Linked DNA regions of Homo sapiens: region 2 is linked to region 1. The links are contacts of gene promoters, found by promoter capture Hi-C in blood cells and fetal thymus (Javierre and others, 2016). All regions are on one chromosome and are shown on one strand. Each heading gives the region's core, a stretch centred on a gene start or on the middle of the fragment in contact. The rest is flanking DNA. Distances are from core to core; before and after follow the strand shown.

Evidence for each region. Contacts are between HindIII fragments. The CHiCAGO score rates a contact against its expected background, and 5 or more counts as called.
Region 2: a fragment that was not itself captured here is called in contact with the fragment with the promoter of TELO2 in region 1 in 2 of 17 cell types (M1 macrophages and megakaryocytes); the score reaches 6.2 in M1 macrophages.

What each region holds. Positions count from the first base shown.
Region 1 is chr16:1,489,373-1,494,757 of GRCh38, forward strand. TELO2 (telomere maintenance 2) reads left to right here and starts at 3,988. Exons shown (of 21, transcript NM_016111.4): 1 at 3,988-4,233; 2 at 4,874-5,244. The coding sequence starts at 4,910. RefSeq lists enhancers at 3,646-3,695, 3,793-4,693 and silencers at 3,906-3,995, 4,166-4,215, 4,226-4,425. The HindIII fragment of the contact is 10,177 bases long and covers 1-5,385 here.
Region 2 is chr16:1,568,039-1,574,052 of GRCh38, forward strand. IFT140 (intraflagellar transport 140) reads right to left here. Exons shown (of 31, transcript NM_014714.4): 14 at 3,369-3,496; 15 at 179-296. Among named protein-coding and RNA genes, the nearest start is that of TMEM204, 37 kb to the left of the region's middle. The HindIII fragment of the contact is 263 bases long and covers 3,122-3,384 here.

The DNA.
Region 1 (5,385 bases), core at 2,738-5,237:
GACTGGGAGCCACCTTAATTAATTAATTATTATTATTATTTGAGATGGAGTCTCGTTCTGTTGCCTAGGCTAGAGTGCAATGGCGCAATCTCAGCTCACTGCAACCTCTGCCTCCCCGGCTCAAGCGATTCTCCTTCCTCAGCCTCCTGCCTCCTGAGGAGCTGGGATTACAGGCGTGCTTTACCATGCCCGGCTAATTTTAGTATTTTTAGTAGAGATGGGGTTTCACTATGTTGGTCAGGCTGGTCTCAAACTTCTGACCTCATGATTTGCCTGCCTCAGCCTCCCTAAGTGTTCGGATTACAGGCATGAGCCACTGCGCCTGGCCAATTAATTAATTTTTTTGACGGAGTCTTGCTCTGTCACCCAGGCTGGAGTGCAGTGGTGCGATCTCCGCTCACCACAAGCTCCGCCTCCTGGGTTTAACGGATTCTCCTGTCTCAGCCTCCCAAGTAGCTGGGATTACAGGTATGTGCCCCCACATCCGGCTAATTTTTGTATTTTTAGTAGAGACGGGGTTTCACCATGTGGGCCAGGCTGGTCTCAAACTCCCGACCTCAGGTGATCCACCCGCTGTAGCCTCCCGAAATGCTGGGATTACAGGCATGAGCCACCGCGCCCGGCCAATTTTTGTATTTGTAGTAGAGACGGGGTTGCCCCATGTGGGCCAGGCTGGTATTTTTGGTTACAGGTTGTGTACTGGCTTGAATGAGACCCTCCTAAAAACACACATAAGCCCCAGGCAGGGCCTTATGTGGAAAAGGTCTCTGCGGATGTCATGAAGGATTTTGAGATGAGACCATCCTGGATTATCCAGGTGGCCCTAAAGCCAATGACAGGGGTACAAGAGACAGAGGAGGAGGCACAGAGGACACGGCCTGTGAAGATGGGGCAGAGACTGGGGTGACGCTGCCACGAGGAACCCCCAGAGGCCCCAGAAGCTGGAAGAGGTAAAGTGGGAACCCCCAGCCCAGAGCCTTCGAGGGAGTGTGCACCTTCACTTCAAGACTTCCAGCCCCCAGAACTGTGATAGGACTCATTTCTGTTGTTTCAAGCCGCCCAGCTCATGGGAATAAGATCATCCACAAAGTTGTCCCACTGGGGGCATCCATCATTCCCAAGGTGGCATGAGCCAAGAGGGTGCCAGGCCAGGAAACCATCGGTGGCCCCCAGGCTCCCCTTGTCAAGCGTCAGAACACCATGGACATGGAGAAGATGCAGAAAGCATCGGAGAGAACATCCTGGGCACATGGACGGGGTTGGGGCCTTAGGCCCCGGGGGACTGGCAGCCACCAGGACAGCGACGCTGGTGCCACACACAGAGCGGCGGATCTCGCAGCTTCCAACTGACAGTGAGTTCCATTTATTTATGTATTTATTTTATTTCGGTAGAGAAGGGTCTTGCTATGTTGCCAGGCTGTTCTCAAACACTCCTGGGCTCAAGCAATCCTCCCAGCTCAGCCTAGCCAAAGTGCTGGGTTTACTGGCGTGAGCCACTGAGCCTGCCTGATTTCCATTTAAAGTTGTGGGTCGGGGCAGGGTGTGGTGGCTCTCTCCTGTAATCCCAGCACTTTGTGAGGTCAAGGTGGGCAGATCACTTGAGTCCAGGAGATCGAGACCAGGCTGGGCAACATGGCAAAACCCCGTCTCTACTAAAATTACAAAAATCAGCCAGACGTGGTGGTGTGCACCTGCAGTCCCAGCTACTTGGAAGGCTAAGGCGGGAGGATCGCCTGAGCCGGGGAGAAGGAGGTTGCAGTGAGCTGAAATCGCGCCACTACACTCCAGCCTGGGTGACAGAGCAAAGAATAAAGACATTTTCAGACACACAAAGGCTTGAGAAATTTGTCCTCCAAGCACCCACTGTTGGATGCGGGGCTTCAGGAAAAGAAGGGAATAGGGAAGGACGGAGCTGCCGTGGGCACTGGCGAGGGCTGGAACCCAGCAGCGGACGGAGGAGGAGTTTCCGGGATGATGGGATGCTGCCTGCCCCATATCCCATCCATCAGCTCTGCCTGCAGAGACATGCCCTGAGTTCAGCTGCTTCTCTACACCCCCATTCCGCCCCAAGCTCATCCTCACAATGGCCACCTAGTCCCCTCGTCCGTGTCGCCCCCCTACCGTCTGCTCTCCTAACTGCACCAGCATGGACCCGTGCCTTCAATGGCTCCAGGAGATGCCTGCCACACAAGCAAAATCTTAGTCCCTGCGAGGGCCTTCTGTGGCCTGGCCCACTGCCTCACTCCCTCCAGGCCTCACCCCTGCATATGCCTCCCTCGGCTCCACCTCCCGGGCAACAGTTGCGGCCTCAGGCCTTTGCACCTGCCGTTTTCCTGCCAGTGAGACTCTTCCCTGGCTGTCAACACATTCAGGGCTCTGCTCTAAGGTGTTCTGTTCAGAGCTCTCACCTTACGTAAGACAGCACCCACTGCTCTCTGGCTCTTTTCTTTTTTTTTTTTTTTGGAGGAGTCTCGCTCTGTCACCCAGGCTGGAGTTCAATGGCACAATCTCCACTCATTGCAACCTCTGCCTCCTGGGTTCAAGCAATTCTCCTGCCTCAGCCTCCCAAGTAGCTGGGATCACAGACACATGCCACCACGCCCAACTAATTTTTGTATTACTATTATTATTATTATTATTCTTTTTTTAGGAGAGACGGGGTTTCACCATGTTGGCCAGGCTGGTCTCGAACTCCTGAGCTTGTGACCCACCCGTCTCGGCCTCCCTAAGTGCTGGGATTAGAGGTGTGAACCACTGTGCCCGGCCACTGGCTCTTATTTTCTTACCCTACCGGTTTTTTATTTTGATTCCTTTTTTTTTTTTGAAACAGGGTCTTGCTCTGTTGTCCAGGCTGGAGTGCAGTGGCAGTGAACATGGCTCACTGCAGCCTCAACCTCCCGGGCTCAAGCCATCCTCCCACCTCAGCCTCCTGAGTAGCTGGGATCACAGGCTCATGACACCGTGCCTGGCTAATTTTTAAATTTTTTGTAGAGACAGGGTCTCACTATTTTTCCCATTCTTGAACTTCTGGGTGCAAACGATTCTCCCACCTCAGCTTCCCAGTGCTGGAATTACCGGCGTGAGCCACCGGGCCCGGCCTCTGCCAGTTTTTCTGCTCGAGGCCTGTCACCTGGCATATTTCGTATGTACTTTATCTGTTCCCCCGATAGGTGAGCAGGAACTTTGCATCATTTGTTGCTCAGAAGGCTTGGTGCACCAAGCAGGCATTTAATCAATGTTTGTTGAATGGATAACTGTTCCCCAGCTTTTCCCACATCCATCACTGCTGAAATGGCGCCTCTTTAGGTGTCTTCCTGGATTGCCCCCTCCACAAAGATGAAGCCCCCCACACTCCGCTGCGGTGTACAGAAGGCACTGCATGTTGTAAATGTTCAGTGTCCGGCTGTCCAGCCTGGCGGCCACAGCCAAAGGTAGTACCGAGCCCTTGAGATGGGGCTAGTGCTGCAAGGGAACTGGACTTATTTAACTTCAGTTAATTTACAGAGCCACATGCGTCTAGCGCTTACCCTACTGGTCGCAGTTTTTATTCCACGACCCGGCCTCATTTACGGAGCTGCAATTGTTCAGATCTGACATGATCTCAACTGCTCTTTTACTTCCTTGTGTACCGTGCGTTTCCCTTACTGGCCTCTGACCCTTGAAAGCAGAGCCTTACATCCGGGGAAGACGAGCCAGGCCTGTCTTGGTAAACATCTGCCTTAGAGCGAACGCTCGGCGTTCTGGAGAGAATGTGGGACCCGAGGCGGAGGGAAGAGACGGCTGACATCACTCCAGGGTAGGGACGACCGAGATGGGAGAAACTAAGGCGAGAACCCACCACCCGGGCGCAGCGAACCCAGCTCGCAGCCACGTGGGGAAGCGCGGCCCTGCCCTCAGGCCCCGCCCCACTCACGCGTCAGGCCCCGCCCACCCCACCGCCCCCCGCTCCCGCGTCCAGGCTCCGCCCCGTCCCCGCGCAGCGCAGGCGCAGATGCGCCCTCCCGCCTGGCGTCCTCCGCAGATTCGCGCTGAGAGGCCCGCGGAGACCCGCCCCAGAGGCTCAAGAAAACCCGCGGGAGCCTCGCCCGGACCCAGGAACTCGTGCTCGGGGCCAACCGGCTGGGCCGCGATCGCGTTTCGTCCGGGGCCGCGGCGGCCGTGGGGAATCGGCTGCAGCGAATCGGTGGCGCGCGGCGCCTGAGCGCGCTGCAGTCACCCGGGAGCCGGGTCCAGGTCGGGTTGGGGGTCGGGGATCGGGGATCGGGGGTCCGGTTGGGTCGGGTTGGGCTCCAGGTCTGGTTGGGTCGGGTCCAGGTCGGGTAGGAGTCCGGTCGGGGTCCGGGTACAGGTCGGGGTCCGGGCCTGGATCGGGGGCGGGTCCGCGTGCGGCTCCTCTAGCCCCGAACCCGTGTTCCCCGTAAGCTGTTGGTTTCTAAGGGGCGGAGGAATGGCGACTGGAGCCACCTCTCACCGCTCAGGGAGCCGGGAGGGCCGGCAGCTCCCGCGGGCCGAGTTTCCCGCCTTGGGTGCGAGGACGCGTGGGGCCGCGCTGTGCCCGGGGAACACTCACCAGCATCTCTAGCCTCCACCTCCCTCTCGCGCCAGTGGCACTCCCGGTTGAGACAACTGAGAATGTTCCCTGGGCACAGTGGCCCGGGTTGAGAAGCCCTGCAGTGGCTGGTAGCGTTGGGGTCCGAGCGGAGGAGCGAACTCTGGGTGGAAACCGGCAGGCACTGGAGGGGAAGGAGGCGGGACAGGGTTGGGTGGGACCAGGGTTGAGGGGTGTGGGGTCTCGGGGCGCTCACCGAGGGGCTTCCTGAGCTTGTGTGGATTATTTCCGTGCCCCAAGCTGAGCCCTGTGTCCATGTCACAGGTCGTCTTCCCGTGACGCCCAGATCTGTCCTGCAGGATGGAGCCAGCACCCTCAGAGGTTCGACTCGCCGTCCGGGAAGCCATTCATGCCCTCTCGTCTTCGGAGGATGGCGGCCACATCTTCTGCACCCTGGAGTCCCTGAAGCGGTATCTCGGTGAGATGGAGCCTCCAGCGCTCCCGAGGGAGAAGGAGGAGTTTGCCTCGGCCCACTTCTCGCCTGTCCTCAGATGTCTTGCCAGCAGGCTGAGCCCAGCCTGGCTGGAGCTGCTGCCCCATGGCCGCCTGGAGGAGCTGTGGGCCAGCTTCTTCCTGGAGGGCCCGGCGGACCAAGCCTTCCTGGTGTTGATGGAGACCATCGAGGGTGCTGCGGGGTGAGTGGGCTGGGCCCATCCTGGGGTTGCCGGTAGCCTCAGAAGTGATGAGAGTGGCTTGAAGGACTGGACCAAGAGCCTCTCTAGTCCCTGTGAGGGGCTAGAGAGAGAGCCTGCTCCTGGCTGAACCCCTGAACAGAA
Region 2 (6,014 bases), core at 2,003-4,502, 78 kb after region 1:
CCCGGAGAAGGTGGGAGGGAGAGACCCGGGGAGACGAGGGGAAGGAGAGTGGGGCTGAACAGAACACAGGACAGGAAGACTTGCACAGGAGGAGAGAGGCACGAGCAGGCAGGAGGCCTGGCCTGGGAGGACAGAGGTGAGGAGGCGGAGTGGGCGAGTGGACGAGGGGTGGCCTCACCTTGCTGGGGAGGATGCTGATGGTGCTCCCGCTGCTGCTGCACCGCAGAGAAGCGATGCCCCCCACCCCAGGGACCAGCTCCGCCAGGCTCCTGCAGCTACAGTGTGCTTTGGCCTCTCTGCAGGGAGGAAGAGGGACCTCAGTGCCCGCCAGAGGCCCAGTTCCCAATTCTCCGCCCACCCTGAAACCTCTGTTCACCGGATGAGTGCTGCACAGCTCTTAGGCTGCTTCTCACCCTGGGTGGCGCGTGTGCACCATGAGGTGGGGCAAACGCAAAACACAGGGTGAGTTCTTCCACCTCAGGTACTCTTACGAACAAGGACGAATATGAGTGCTTCGTCCCCTTCCTCTTGTTCAAGTAGCTTATTAAAAATGCTGTTCTAGGCCAGGCGTGGTGGCTCACACCTGTAATCCCAGCACTTTGGGAGGGTGAGGCAGGCAGATTATTTGAGGGTTGAAGCCAGGAGGCGGAGGTTGCAGTGAACCGAGATCATGCCACTGCACTCCAGCCTGGGCGACAGAGTGAGACTCCATCTCAAAAACAAAAAACGAAAAAAAACAAAACAACGCTGCTGTACGCCGTTCTATACCTGGAGTTTGTGCCTTATGCTCTGTTTCCGCGATTTTTCGTAGCACGTGGGGACTGCTTCATCGCCCGCTGTGACAGCTGCACAGTTTCCCGTCATAGGGACACACTGAGCTATTTAACTCGTCCCCTGCCAGTGACATTTAGCTGTTTCTAGTTTGTTGCTGACATAATCAATACAAAGTATGTAGTGGTAGCTTGTTTTTTTTTTTTTTTTTTTGAGACGGAGTCTCGCCCTGTTGCCCAGGCTGGAGTGCAGTGGCGCCATCTCGGCTCACTGCAAGCTCCGCCTCCCGGGTTCACGCCATTCTCCTGCCTCAGCCTCCCGAGTAGCTGGGCCTACAGGCGCCCGCCACCGCGCCCGGCTAATTTATTTTTGTATTTTTAGTAGAGACGGGGTTTCACCGTGTTAGCCAAGATGGTCTCGATCTCCTTGACCTCGTGATCCGCCCGCCTCAGCCTCCCAAAGTGTTGGGATTACAGGCGTGAGCCACCGCGCTCGGCCGTGGAATTCTTTTCTATGGGACACCTGTCTCTTCTCCTCTATTTATTGACTTACTCATATCATTCGGACTCACACTAGTCATTTTTTTACTTTGGTATATAATTCAAGCTTCTTTCCTTCCTCCCTCCCTCCCTCTTCCCTTCCCTCCCCTCCCTTCCCTTCTCTCCTTCCTTCTTTCCCTCCTCCCTCCCTCCCTTCTTTCCCTTTTTTCTTTCTTTCTTTCTCTCTTTTTGTCTTTTCCCTCCACTCCCCTCCTCTCCCTCCCCTCCCCTTCCTTTTCTCTCTCCCTCTCTCTCTCTGAGACAGGATCTCTCACTCTGTCGCCCAGGCTGTAGTGCAGTGGTGTGATCTTGGCTCACTGCAGCCTTGACCTCCTGGGCTCAAGTGATCCTCCTGCCTCAGCCACCTGAGTAACTGGTACTATAGATGCAAGTCACCATGCCTGGCTAATTTTTTTTTTTTAAGAAATTGGGTTTCACCATGCTGCCCAGGCTGGTCTTGAACTCCTGGGCCTAAGCAATCCACCTCTCTTGGCCTCCCAATGTGCTGGGACTTGCAGGATGAAATGGGCCACCCAGAAAAAAAAAAAATAATAAATAAATAAAATGCTGGGACTACAGGCATGAGCCACCGCATCTGGCCTGCTTTATTTATTTTGTTGCTCCAATTATTCCAGCTTTGGCTATTAGGACCTCTTTTGGTGGGGTCTGTGTCTCTGTGACCCCCACCCTGCCATCTTTATGAGGTTTTTTGGTTTGCTTTGTTTTTAGCACTTCCTCACTTTCGGGCAGCACAGATGCTGCCAGCTCATTTGTACATTTCCTGTCCTGGTCCTAGAGTCAGCATCTCTCCAAGGATCCATAGCTCCTTTATTGGAGGATGGTGGTAGAAACCAAGGTCTGGGCACCAGGTGTGCCTGCTGGGACAGGGTTGTTGCTTCTAGGCCCTCTCAGCTGACAGAGTGAGGAAATATGTGTGTACCAACGGGTACATTGATACAGACCTACGATTCTGTGTATGGAGTCATCCCTACCTACATGAAGCCAGGGATTTGTTCATGCTGACACCTCTACCTCTGATCCACTCTCCCAGGGCCTATTCTAGTCCCTCCACTTGCTAATCTGTAACTCCCACTCCCACTCCCACCACGCGATGCCAGGCTCCTGCCATCTACCCTCCATTTGCTCAGCTGTCCAATTCCAGTGCACACGCATCACAGGATCAGCGTTGCTCATCCCAACCCCTGTGGGGAGCAGAATTCTCCACTAGAGAGCCGAGCTCCTGTGCAGTTCCTTCGGCCTAAGTGCTCGCCAGGGCCTCCCCTCACTCCCAGAGCCACTTAGGTCAGCACTTTCCCCCCACACCCTTTAGTGAAGCTGTTTCATACATTTGGTAACACAGTGAGACTGTTTTGTTACCTTCTGTGTTCCGTCCTGGGGTCCTCTAACATTCTAAGTGATTTTTTTGAGACAGGGTCTCACTCTGTGGCCCAGGCTGGAGTGCAGTGGCACAACCACAGCTCACCGCAACCTCGATCTCCGAGGCTCAAGCAATCCTCCCACCTCAGCCTCCCAAGCAGGTGGGACTACAGGTACGTGCCACCATGCCCAGCTAATTTTTAAAAGTTTTTGTAGAGACAGGGTTTTGCTATGTTGCCCAGGTTGGTCTCAAACTCCTGGGCTCAAGCAGTCTTCTCGCCTTGGCCTCCCAAAGTGCTGGAAATACAGGTGTGAGCTACCCTGCCCAGCCTGAATGATTTTTTAAACATTTGTATACATTAAGGTTCACACTTTGCACCATAAAGCGCTATGATTTCCAACAAATGTACAATGTCATGCACTCATCATATAGAAGCTTCCCCACCCTCACCACTCCCTGTGCTTCAACTATTCAAGCCTCCTCTCCCCGACACGGCTCCACCACCAGGCAAAGGCCAGGAACTGAGCCCCAACATGAGGCATTCGAGAGCACAAGTGGCATGTCGGTGTTAAAATGGGCACCTAAGGAGTCTTCTGGCTTCTAACTCACTTTCTACCCATCACACTGTCTCCTGACTGACTAAAAAAATGTTCACACTTCTATTTGGAAAAAAAATTTACCTTCGGGAAAGATCAAAGCTTTTAAAGTGAGCCAAGTCTGTCCCTACAACCAGGAAATTCCCACAGATGTCCAAGAAGCAGGGATTCCCCTCAGTCTCCGAGAAAAGGAGGAGTTGTTTGACAGTCCCCTGAGGAAAAGGAACAAGAAATGGATATATTTCATGTTAGTTACTGAACATTGTTCACAGATAACCTTGTACACACAAGAAATGGATATATTTCATGTGAGTTACTGAACATTGTTCACAGATAACCTTGTACACTCCACTCATTCACTCGCTCAGTGTTTACTGACGGCTCAGAGTGTGCCCAGCACTCTGCTGGACTCTAGTGCTGCGGGGGAAGGACGGGGCCCTGTCCTCAGGAGAGCTCTGGTGCCTCCAGTCTAGAGGGGAAAACAGACAGCAGTGCGGTCGACAAACAAATACATATGTAATCTCAGCTGAGTAAGTGCCATGTAGGTAAAGAATGGGATCTCAGGAAAGTGCCAGGCACGGAGAGAGGGCGAATTCCATCCACTGGGGAGCTCTGGGGGGCCCTGTCTGTGGAGGCCCTGTCATGTGAAAGCCGCAGGAATACTTGTTACGTTGTGTCACGTGAATGGTTACCCTGGGTGAGGCGGTGGGGGAGAGGAAGGATGCTAGTTACATGCTGGCAATGTCCCACCCGCGAAAAGCCCCTGCACCGTACGCTTAGGCACGACGCACCCACTCTTTCTAAGTGTGTGGGTATTTCAGTAAAATGTTTAAGAAGTCAGCCAGGTGGGCAGAGGCCACAGGGGCGTTCCTGCAGGCTGAGGGGAAGAGTGAGATTTCCTTCTAAGTGAAACTGGAAGACTGCAGGGTTTTGAGCTGGGAAGTGATTTCGCATCATTTATATTTTCAAAGCATCACCTTGGCCTTTCCAGCATGTTAGAAAGCACGTCCCACAGTCGGCACGTTAGAAAGCATGCCCCACAGGCCGGGCGCGGTGGCTCACGCCTGTAATCCCAGCACTTTGGGAGGCCAAGGCGCGTGGATCATGAGGTCAGGAGATCGAGACCATCCAGGCTAACACGGTGAAACCCCGTCTCTACTAAAAATACAAAAAATTAGCCGGGTGTGGCGGTGGGTGCCTGTAGTCCCAGCTACTCGGGAGGCTGAGGCAGGAGAATGGTGTGGACCCGGGAGGTGGAGCTTGCAGTGAGCCGAGAACATGCCACTGCACTCCAGCCTGGGCGACAGAGCAAGACTCCATCTCAAAGAAACAACAACAAAAAAGAAAGCATATACCCCACAGTCACCCCACAGTTGCGCTGGAGCAGACCTCATGCTTTGTGGTGTGTCTTTTAGGGACTAACCTTAATCCTCTGAGTTTCAAAGCGAAGCTCTTGGCTCAATTCAACCAATGCCCAGTGAATGCCTACACCCTGCCCAGCAGTGGGTTGGGGGAGGAGCATCACAAGTGAGTGGCACATCCCCAGGGCACTCCACGTGGGGGCAGCGAGTCAGATGCGAACGGCTGAATGCATCCTGGGGCCAAGACAGGCAGCAGGGAAGGCACAGATCTAGTGCATGGGAGCTGCACAGAATCTGAGTGGCAAGGCAGGCTGGAAGGTGGGCAGAGCTCCAGGAGAACTTAGTGGGCACGGAAATCTAAACACAGACTCCAAAAGCCAGCAAAGGGGCAGGAGCCTGCACAGTGTGTTTAGGAAACTGAGGGTGAGGGACGGATGGCTGGAGTCAGGGTGGGAGTATTCCAAGCTGAGGAAGCTCACTTCATTTTGATGTATCCAGTGGGAGCCTAATAAATGCTTATGGAATGAGCAAGTGGCTGCTTGAACACAGGATAAAAAGAGCAGGGGGAGCGGACTAGCTGATGGGGCCAGGGCTGACACTATTAATGATGACAGAGAGCACTGGAGGCTCCTCGGTGAGCTCACTCCCTGCCCTGCCCCTTACCTGCTGGGTCCCGGGTTCAGATCTGAGCTCAACTCTTTTACATTCTTTAACATCTCTATGTCAATACATTCCCAACTCCCAAAGTACTGTCTTCAGGGCACTGACCCAGCTCCTGACCTCCAGAGCTTGTATTTCCAACTGTCTCTTAGACACCCCTAAGGGCTCTCCAAGGCACCACGAACTCGAACTTGCATCCTGCCCTGCCCCCTATGCCAGCTCTGCCTCTGGAGTTCCTGTCTTAAAGGTGCCACGACAAACCCAACCTCTCAGGCTAGAAAACTCAGAACATCCTCAGTTCTATACTCTCTGTAGCCACCCATCATGCAACTAGTCACCCCCCTTATAAGAGCCACAGTGCCCCTCCACTCCAGCTCTGCTGGTGGCTGCTGCCTGGGGCCAGGCTGAGCTGCTCTCCTGCGGCGTCTCCCACAACTTCACTCTTCTCCACCCTTAAGCTTGGCTCCCCACTACGCTGGCACAGAAGTTACTTTCTAGGGAGAAAATAACACAAAGCCAAGAAAATAAGTCAAAATTGGGGAAAGGAAAGAACTGTTATCAGAGGAAGGTAAGTCCTTTTCAGGGATCAGGCCCCCAGAGACCTTAAATGAGGCAGCAGCCACGCCCTGCTCTCCCTTGAGCTGTGTTCTTCTCTGGAAACTGCCTGCTGCCGCCACAGGTAGCTGAGAACTAACCTGATAAGCTGCCG